Linked DNA regions of Homo sapiens: region 1 is linked to region 2. Evidence: promoter capture Hi-C in human tissues and cell types (Jung and others, 2019). All regions are on one chromosome and are shown on one strand. Each heading gives the region's core, a stretch centred on a gene start or on the middle of the fragment in contact. The rest is flanking DNA. Distances are from core to core; before and after follow the strand shown. Region 1 overlaps OTX2-AS1 (OTX2 antisense RNA 1). Region 2 holds the start of OTX2 (orthodenticle homeobox 2).

The links. Contacts are between HindIII fragments. The study calls those that stand out against the background at their distance.
Region 1: a fragment that was not itself captured here is called in contact with the fragment with the promoter of OTX2 in region 2 in 1 of the 25 tissues and cell types used here (H1 embryonic stem cells).

Annotation. Positions count from the first base shown.
Region 1 is chr14:56,859,180-56,864,531 of GRCh38, forward strand. The region is part of intron 1 of OTX2-AS1 (OTX2 antisense RNA 1); the gene reads left to right. Among named protein-coding and RNA genes, the nearest start is that of OTX2-AS1, 49 kb to the left of the region's middle. The HindIII fragment of the contact is 3,330 bases long and covers 459-3,788 here.
Region 2 is chr14:56,808,853-56,813,980 of GRCh38, forward strand. It overlaps OTX2 (orthodenticle homeobox 2), which reads right to left and starts at 1,627. Exons shown (of 5, transcript NM_021728.4): 1 at 1,524-1,627; 2 at 1,307-1,370. OTX2-AS1 (OTX2 antisense RNA 1) reads left to right here and starts at 4,306. Exons shown (of 4, transcript NR_029385.2): 1 at 4,306-4,617. RefSeq lists an enhancer at 3,007-3,899. The HindIII fragment of the contact is 7,680 bases long and covers 1-5,029 here.

The sequences.
Region 1 (5,352 bases), core at 874-3,373, 51 kb after region 2:
GATTACAGGCATGCACCACCATGTCTGGCTGAATTTTTTTTTTTTTTTTTTTGGTAGAGATAGGGTTTCGCCATGTTGGCCAGGCTGGTCTTGAACTCCTGACCTCAAGTGATCTACCCGCCTCAGCCTCCCAAAGTGTTGGGATTATAGGTGTGAGCCACTGTGCCCAGCCACAGTAAGATTATTATTATTATCCCCATTTTAAAGGTGGAGAAGCCGAGGCTTTGAGAGGATGAGTAGCTAGTGAAGGTCACATAGCTAGGAAGTAGGGGGCCAGAATTCCAACCCAGGCCTAGTCTGACATTAGGGCTAGTGTGTATTTTTGTTCTGTTTAGTTTTTTTCAGTGAACCTAAAAGGACTATTTCATACTGTTTTTGTTGATTAGGAATTAAATTGTTTTGTATGAAATATCATTTGAAATTCCTCAATAACATCTGGGGCTCAGAAATATCTTTTTTGTATATATTTAAGGTGCACAATATGATTTTTTGATACTTAGCTTGATATACATATATGTAGTGAGTGAAGTGGTTACTACAGTCAAGCAAATTAACATACCTATTGTCTTATATACTTACCTGTGTGTGTGTGTGTCTGTGTGTGTGTGTGTGTGTGTGTGTGTGTGTGCGCGTGTGGTAAGAGTACCTAAAATTTACTCTTTTGGCAAATTACCAGGATACAATATGATATTACAAACTAGAGTCCTCATGTTGTGCAATTACGAACTAGAGTCTTCACGTTGTGCAAACAGATCTCTAGACTTATTAATGCTACATTACTGCAACTTTGTACCTTTTGATCTACATCTTCTTATTTCCTCCTGTGCTCCCCACAAATCCTGTTTTCACTGTTTTTATGTATTTGTTTTTTTTTTTAAACTAGAAGACATTATGCTAAGGAAATAGGCCAGACACAGAAAGAAAAATACTAGTTGGGACTAAATTCTAAGAACAATACAAAGTCACAGAAGCCATTGAAGAGAGAGACTTTTAGATAAGATTCTTTTAGGAAAAACCTGCAATATTGCTCCTGAACCCGATTCTTATCCCAAAGGCCAGAGACTACAGAAGCAATGCTATCGGTAGAATATTGAATTCCCAGGAGCTATTTGTGCAACATTATAAAGCTCTTTACCCTCTAAAAATGTTAAGAGCAGAATGTTTATGATAGATTTCAAAATGTAGGTGAGCCACTCATTCATTAGCACCTCTGATATGCCAGGTTCTACATGATCTAGGCTTCTTAACTCAAGATCAATACTATCCAGTCATGGGAATGTAACCAAAGCTAATTTGGGAGGAGAGGACATGAAAATAGAAATAAGCAGGCAGATTGTTTCTGGCTAGACAGGGATGGAGAGGATTTGTTATTAAGCAGAGATGGGTTTACATTCTAATTGATGTTGGTGTCTTCAGTCTTAACGTTTTGCCAGAAAATGAACGGGAGGCGGCAGTGGTAGGTGACAGAAGCTTTTCTGCATAACAGTTTACCATGGAATCCACTCACCAGGCTGGGATTTAAATTTGGCTGTAACTCTCGTCAGGGCAGAATATGAGTGGTGTGTGCTTCTTTCTATTGTGGTCCATGGTTATGTCTGCATAATAACTATTGCAAAGAAAGGTGAAAACTTTTGGTTAATTATCAGATGCTTTGCAATGGTCAGACATAATGCATAATACATGTCTCATGGATTTCAGTTTTTAGTTGGATGTGTTGGCATTAAAGTGAGTGTTTGCTAAGGATGGGCACAGATGAACATGTGACCCTCAAAGGAAGCTGGCTTAATGCATTGTTGCATAATAAAGCCAGGAGTCTCTCTCTATATATACATGTGTGTATGTATATACGTGTGTGTGTGTGTGTGTATTTTTAATCAAATGTTATGGTTCTCATTCTATATGCTTTATTTGTTAGGAATAAAGCATCAAAACAGTTTTAGAAAAGGAGCGATTGTTGGATGATTTATATTTAATTTGCTACACTGTTGGAGAGAAAAAGATTAAAAGCAAATTCCAGCTCAAAATCATAGCTTCTTTCAGTCTTGAAGGTATATATATATATCTTCATATACATACACACATACATATATACATATATATATATACACACACACATACATATTTATGTATGTTTTTAGAGACGGGGTCTCACTATTTGCCTAGATTAGTGTCAAACTCCTGGAGTCAAACTCACTGGGAGGACGTAAGCCATTCTCCCTCTCAGTCTCCTCAAGTATCTGTCTGGAAAGGTATATTTTTAAGAGCAGACATACAGCTAACCCAAACATACCACAGCAGGTCAAGAATCCCTATTCAAGAGGGTTTCCTAATGGAAAAAGTCAGAGAACTAGTTCATTTGAGTAAATGTAGCTTATTTTTATGCTATTTCCAGAATAATCACCTTAAATCTATTTTAATAGTCTCACAACAATGCAAAGATTCCATGTTACAAAGTAAGCCTTAGAATTCTAAACCTGTAATGTCAGGTAGGCCCTAAGATTTATTCATGCAGCAATGATAGGCTAAATATCTAATTACTCATTTGTTAAAACACACAGAGCAAAAATAGATTTTCTTTTAAAAGCATTGGTTTTCCCATTTTGCTCTTTGGATTTGAGTCTTTCAGATTACATAACATGGGGCAAATGCTTAAAAGCTAAAACATACATAAGCTACTTCATACTATATTTTATTGCTTTTTAATTTATTTAACTTAAAAATTAAGTTCTATAGTGCAGTTAATATAAGAAAAAGTATAAATTTTTTTAAAAGAGGCATAGCTATATTCTCCAGCTGTTGGTCTGTACCGTTAAATTACCAGTTTTTAAAATTAAAAAAAAAAACAGTTAAAAATATTTGTTAAATAGGTGACTGGGCCAGATGCGGTGGCTCATGCCTATAATCCCAGCACTCTGGAAGGCCGAAGTGGGAGGATTACCTGAGCTCAGGAGTTCGAGACCAGCCTAGGCAACATAGCAAGACCTCATCTCTTAAAAAGAAAAAATTAGCTAGCATACTTGTGTGCACCTGTAGTCCCAGCTACTGGGAGGCTGAGGTGGAAGCATCACTTGAGCCCAGGATTTTGAGACTGCAGCAAGCTGATTGTGCCAGTGCACTTCAGCCTAGGCAACAGAGCACCACCCTGTCTCGAAAAAAAAAAATTTAATGGGTGACTGAAGTTTTCTCTCTACATTCATTAATAAATAGCTTTCAGTGCCCACTGTGTGCCAGGCACAGGGCCAGGATCTAGGGATACAGCAAGGAGAGCAACCCACTTTATTTTTGGATGGGGTTTAAAGGTGTGGACGTGGGATAGGAGACAAACGAGAAAGGAAAAAGGGCTTTAGAGCAGCCAGTTTTGACAGGTATTCCTGCCAGTGACCTTATGCATCCAGTAACTAAGCATGAACATTCTTCTTATTGGTAGTTGTGACCCTCTGATACTAAAGAGATTTCCCCCAAGTTGTCTTATTACATGTCCCACAATAGATGACATTCACAGCCTTCACATACTTCATCACTGAACTCACAACTAGCAGTAGGCTCCTCTTTTATTTTCCATGAACTGATTTTAATTCGGAGAATATTGTAGTTTTTTTTTTTTCTGTCCCAACGTTTTGGCACGTTTGTGTATTCCTCAGAGTACAGCTTCCTATGAGAACACCCTAAGCTTGAATGCTTTGGGGCAGATGTGGGCGATGGTGAGAGGGGAAATAGGACGGGAGGGCTTGAAATCTTTTTGGAATGTAACTTCTCTCCATGAATGCATTTGCATCCACTAGTCTACATTCCCTTGAATCTGTTCTATTTCTGCCATTTAGTGTAAGCATCACAGAAGATGCTGGCTGCCACCGCGGGAGAACAGAGAGTTTTGGTGACTCAGAAAATAACCATATGGCATTCAAGCTTCTTTATGTTGCCCAAAGAGAGCTCACAATAATCTGATCATGGAGTTCGTGCACTGAGAGAAACACCTCTACCACTGTGAAGCAGATTTAAAGTTGCATTTGTTTTCTTTGTCTCCTATCCAAATGAGTATGACAGAGTTTCTTTTAAGAAAATTTGCAACTCTTCCATTTTGGGTGTGTCCTCTGCCAAATGTTTTGGAGACCTTAAAGCAGGGTGCCTGGGTAGGGTTGCTGGATAAAATACTGGATGTTCAGTTAAATTTGAATTTCAGATAAACAACAAATAATTTTTTAGTATAAATATGTCTCATGCAATGCTTGGGATATGCTCATACTAAAAAAATTATTTGTGCCATCTTACATTTTTATTTGCCATATCTGGCAATGTTATGCCTGAGCAATAGGCACCAGAGTATTCATATTGTGGTATCTATAGATAGAGTATTCATATTGTGGTATGCATAGATAGATCAGATTATGATTTTTATTTATTTATTTATTTTGAGACAAGGTCTTATTCTGTCTCCCACGCTAAAGTGCAAGGGTGCAATCTTGGCTCGCTGCTAACCTCTGCCTCCCAACCTTTAGCAGTCCTCCCACCTCAGCCTCCCGAGTAGCTGGGACCATAGGTGTGTGCCACAACACTGGGCTAAGTTTTGTGGGTTTTTTTTCAGTTTAGTTTGATTTTTGTTTTTGTTTTTCTTTTTGGGTAGAGATGGAGTTTCACCATATTGCCCAGGCTGGTCTCAAACTCCTGGGCTCAAGTGATCCTCCTGCCTCGGCCTCCTAAAGTGCTGGGGTTACAGGCGTGAGGCACAAAACCTGGCCCAGATTATGATTTTATGGCACTGTTGACAGCACAGTTTTGGAGCCTTCCATAGCAGCACCACAAACATTGTCTGTCAAGTGTCTACATGCTCATCAGAGTTGTGCTGGCTGCCATGCCGAGTTAAAGTGGACTTGGTCCTTTCAATCTAGAAAGACAACAAGAACAGGACAATATCAACAGTGAGAGACCAGATAAAAAGAAAAGGAAACATGAAAAATTTGACATACATCAAAGGAGTATGTACAACAAATAAAGTGCATCTATTATGTGGACAACTCATTGTTGGGAACTGACACGAGACCATAAACATTTCACAGAAGTCACTGGGCAACTGTTCATATCTTCTGTTTGGAGACAAAACAATATCTCAGGAGCAAAAGAATCTCTACTTCCTTTAACTCCCAGAATTGCACCAATTCCAGAATCGCACCAATTCCAGAATCACCTCAACATCTCATCTCTGCAAGACATTTCATGGGATGATAAAATTATATGTATATATAAAAAGGCATATGCACATATGTAATTTACACACATATATATCATTAAGGGAAAATGTAGCCATTGATACAATCAGAAAATTCTCACATATTTATGCATAATCTCTCGGATCAA
Region 2 (5,128 bases), core at 377-2,876:
GGGGACTTGGGTTTCCAAAAATATGTCCCGAAATCGGGCATCGATTTCAAGAGTCACTTGAACGCAACAACGCGAAGACTTCTTGGGAGTTTGCAGAGCGACCCGTCGCCCGCGCCCGGCGCTGGCAGGGACCTTCGGATGGTTCTTACTGGGCCGATCCATGGCACAGGCTGGGCCTCGGCGAACCCCTCGGCCCCCGCCCGGCCCCGAGCCACGACACCTCATTGTCCTGGAGCCTGGGAAGGGGGTGCGCGAGCGCGCGGGCGAGCCCTGCCTCTCCCCGCCAGAGAACAGCTGAGGGGCCGCGGTCCCAGCGGGAGGATTCCGGTCCCTGGCCCGGCCGCGGCCTTGGGCGGAGCAGGGGCCACTAGCTGCCACTTCTGCCCGCCCCAGGTGCGCGCGGAGGGCTACGTGGGGCGGGCCGCGACCCGGCAAAGTCATGTTGAAAAAACACTCTTCACGTTCGCTCGGCCTGGTGACCAGGGTCGGGGACCACGACAACCGGGGGTTGGGAGGCTGCGTAATTACAACCCAGGGTGGTTTGGATTTTGGGGGGTGGTGGATATTTAAAAACAAAAAGGAGATCTGGAAGCTTTTGGGAGAAACAGACAACCGAGCTGTGCTAGGCTGAGGGAGAGGAGGCCAAAGAGAGCGAGCAGTGAGCGCCGGGGCGGACGAGAAGCCAGCGCTCCCAGCCTCCTCGGTTATCCGCTCCGGTTTCCGCTCACGTTCAACAGGGGCCGACAGGGGCTCGAGCGGCGGCCCCCGGCCCAGGCCGACCCGCAAGCGAACCGAGCTTCCGGCGCGCGGGCCCAAGGAGGCGCCTGGCTTTTTATTATTGTTGTTTCAATCCATCCATCTAGTTACATCTGCATCTTTTTGTCTCGGACTCTAAAAAGGTCCCTGGGATCCATCCAAACGACCCCAACCAAATCTGGGGGCCAAAACGCAAAGATCGCGGGAGAAGCCCAGAACGGCGTTGACATAAAAACAAAACCACAAACAAAACCTTCCAAAACACCCCAGATTACATTCGCAGCGTTTCGACGACGTTTTGCAGAAGCGACGACCCCCAGGAGCACGCTCTCTGCCTCTCTCCCACTACCGCTCTCATCTCTAGATCACATTTTTCTTTTTGCAACGATCGTTATTACACCTCAAAATTTGTAAGAGAAAAAATACATCCGCCTACAGAACTCCACGTTCGCAGAGGGGCATCGGTCGGTCTATTGGAGGTACTGGGGTGATGGCCGACAGACACGGGGACACGTAGATATGGATATAGACAAGACAGACGGACACTTACCTTACAGCCTCATGGGAGGTTAGAAAAAGTCAAATATCCTTTAAATTCCAAATAGCCAGCTATCCTAAAAGAAATCAAGAGTATTGAGTTAGAAACCTTGCAGTCTTCACCCTTCCATGAAAAGTCAAACACAACCAAAAAAAATTTTTTTTAAAGAACGAAAATGAGGAAGGCGGCTAGAGTTCTAAACACGCGTGGGCCCCTCTGCAATACATACAAAGTAGATGTGGCGAGTGAGGGCTGCTCTAGCAATTTTTATTTTTAATCACAGTGGAGGCTGTGTTGGAGCTGAGGCCGGTCCCGCTCTCAGGGAGATTTGCTGAGAAAGCGCCTCTCTGGCAACTTTTTGACGCAAACTCTCCAACCAATGGCAGGGAGAGAATGATTGACACATCTAAGCCAGAGGGAAAATAATAAAAACACACAACAGGGGGAGGAAAACAGGCCGCTGCTGCACGGGGGGACGAGCAGGCAACAAATCCAGGCCTCCGACATTACCAGAATGTTCTTTAAAGACACTGGGCTTTGCTTAAAATATACATTATGGGCCGGAGCATGTGAACTAATTGTATAATTAAAATGATGGACAGGGAGTTCTTCTCTTACCCTCTTTTCCCCTGCTTCCTTTACTCCGAAATTTCCTTTCCTCTCTTTTTTTTTTTTTTTTTTTTGTTGTTGTTGTTTTTAGGGAAGGGAAGAAAGGAAACCCATGCAATGTAAGATGGAAGATAAAAATATTTAAGTAAATGCTGGAGAATGGCGGGTTAGGGAGTGACTGGGTTATCACATTCAACCCCAGCAATAAGTGTGTGGATGACAGGCAGAAAGCAAGTCAGACTGAAACTCAAAAACACCACTATGCCGTCTCAGACAGGGCCAGAGCACGCTGACGGCCAGAAAGGGTAAAGGAGGGAGGCCTGGGAGTGCGATGTGGGCATGTAGGGAAAACAGAGAGAGAAAGATACACAAGTCCAAGAACAAACTATTTTCTAAAACTCAGTGTCTTCTCTATTCCCTACGCCCTTATAAATATCCTTACACATATAAATAAATGATCCCCGAGTGAGAGACCCCGGCTTCTGGTAGGTTCCTGGGGTTTTTTGGAATTGAGAAGCCCACGACAGACTGCAGGGAACACGAACCCCGGAATCTAATCTCAGGGCCCATTTAGGAGAAGTAGCTGGGACCACATCGGGCCTCGAGGATGCGAGTGTGAGGTCGACAAGATATCGTGGAAGAGAGCGAACGAGGGAGGCCCCCGTTGGAAACAGTTTCTGTGTTAGAACAAACGCCACCAAACGACCGACACTGCGAGGCCTGGAGCTACCTGGGCTGGCGCCGCCCGAGCCCCGGGCTGCGAGCCCAGAGGCTGGGAAGTGATGGGACCTGGGGGCCCGAGCCGGAGAGTGCGACCCCCAGCCCAACTTTTTTGCCTGGCATAGAAAGCAGGGACCGGACAGGTTTCAAACGGATCCGAGTCCCTAGAAAAGCAAAAACAGACTGGGCGGAGTGTGGGGTGGGGGGTGGCTAGTGGAACTGGTGAGTGTGTGTGAATAAGCTGGGTGGGGGTGGGAGCAGAAGACAGCTCTTGCTTCACAACACCCAGTGCAGGAAAAGAAAAATAAAATCTCTTCCTAAATACCCCACCCCCCGCCACCCACCCACCACCAACTACCATCACCACCACGGCCAGTGGGCCCAAAGAAACAGCTCGCTGCCTTTAATTTGGGGACCTATGTTAATGAAGTTGGTAATTAATTCGTCGCTTTGTTGTCGGTTCTTATACTGTATGTGTACTCAAATGTGGCCGTCCTTGGGATTTACAGCAATTAACGAATTACGGGAGTGCGCACGAGGCAGCAAGCTCTCGGCAGCCGGGCTCCGGCTCGGGCTCGGCCTGGGGCTGGGGACTCCGCGGCAGCGGCCCCTGTCACAGGTGTCCCTAGAGCTTTGGGCCCTGGCGGCCCCTCGAGCCCCCGAGGGGCCCGGAGCCCGCCCAGCTCCTTCCCGGCCCTCTGCAGCAGCTCCAGTCCGGAGACCCGCTGGCTGTCGCGTTCCCAGGAGTCAAGAGTTTCTAGGGGCCCGGGCGGGGGGGAGGGTGAGTACCGACCTTTTTTCTCACCCCACCCCCACTGTACTGAAACACCTGGCGGCCGCCCCCGAAGCCTTTAATGGGGATGGTGGTGAGGAGGGGGTAACAAATGCCCCGGGCGTTATGACCCTCGTGGCGCTGGCTGTCGGAGGCACTGGTTGGGTGCGCTTGGTCAGAGTCATGATGCTTTCGATGAAGGAAAGGCAAATCCACCTCGATCACCTGAAGCAGAGTCTCCTTCCTACCCCTAGAAAAGACAACGTTTCCCCCAGTTTGATCACAATGATGTTTAAAGCATAAAAGAGCCGAAAAAGAAAAATGGACGTTGTGAATCTGGCAGAGGGGAAGGCCGGAGGAAGGCCTTGGGGACAGTGGGCATGGGGTGGGATGGAGAATGATCAGAACATGCGCTTGTGAGCTAAACCAAGTAAACCATTTTGGACTGGGAGATCCATCTGCCGTAGGGTCCAGTGTCCAGGGTAACCTTTCAAGCCCGATGTAGAGGTTTGCGATGTCCTCCCAGATGGCGGGGGCAGCTGAATCTCCCTAAAAATCCCCCTGTTCTATTCGACAGGGGCAGATTTATGCATGGTGGGGCGTGAGAGGGTTTTGCCCTTCCAGCGGCCGGCAGCAGACAGCTCCCGCTTCTCCTTTGCCCTCTAGTCTAATAACTTCGCAGAAATACAGGGCCAATAAACTACGAGTTGGAAATGGACAGTGTTAAATAAACAAGGGTCTCTTTAAAATTCTCATCCACTTCAGATGTCTAAAGTAAGATTGTGATGATTTTGTCACGGTTTGGTAAATTTACCCCTTTAAGAGGCTTTCATAAATCCCAGAACACACCTTCAGCCAGATTTGAATATAGATTTAGGTTTTAAAACCCAGAAGCTGGAAACACCGCTTTATCAAAGAGAATTTCCCTTTAGCTTAGCAATGTGCTGAAGCTCTTAAAAGATTGGATCTGAGAGAGAGAGACAGAGAGGAGAAAGAGAACTAGAGACAGAGAGAGGCAGACAAGGAAGGGGGGGGGGGGTGAAAGACTTTCTTTTTCTTTCTAGAGGAATTCTGCCCAGACTCTGCAGCAGTTGGTAGCAGGCAAGCTTTCTCCTGGGTGTCGCCTTGAAAAGTTGCAAAATTGCTCTTCACCTGTAAGAACATGCTCTTTATCTTCCAGTCTCTTCTTGTCAATTTGGAAATTGCAGACTGCCCGGCTCAGGTACAGTCCCCACAAACCCTATTCTAGGTCAGGACAAAAGCCACTGGCTTTGGGGGAAGGGGGCTGGGCTCTTTTACTGAAAACCTTAGATGCTTGGTGGGAGAAAAAGACTCTTTGGATGAAAAGTCTAACTCTTGATTTTCAGTAAGTTCTTGAACTTCCAATTTACCTAGTATCTGTTCATTGTATTTCTGTGTTTAACTTTTTTTCTGTGTCCTGTGTCGTTAACATTTTTTTTCTATGAATCTGACTTATGGTAGCATGCTTTGTGTTTTTAAATAATTTTCATTAAAAAGTGGATGGTTTTTAATTGCCACTTGTACAATTATTTTGCTACGCATATGAGATATAAGCATTCAGAAGCTAAATTAAGAAAGCCAATACGAAGGGAATCAAATTATTTGTCAGAGCTTGTGTGCAGTTTCTAGAATATGTCTAATATGCATATTTTGAAATCAAGATTCATGTGTGGCACTAACTAGGCTCAATTTCTCCACCGCACAAGCCAGGC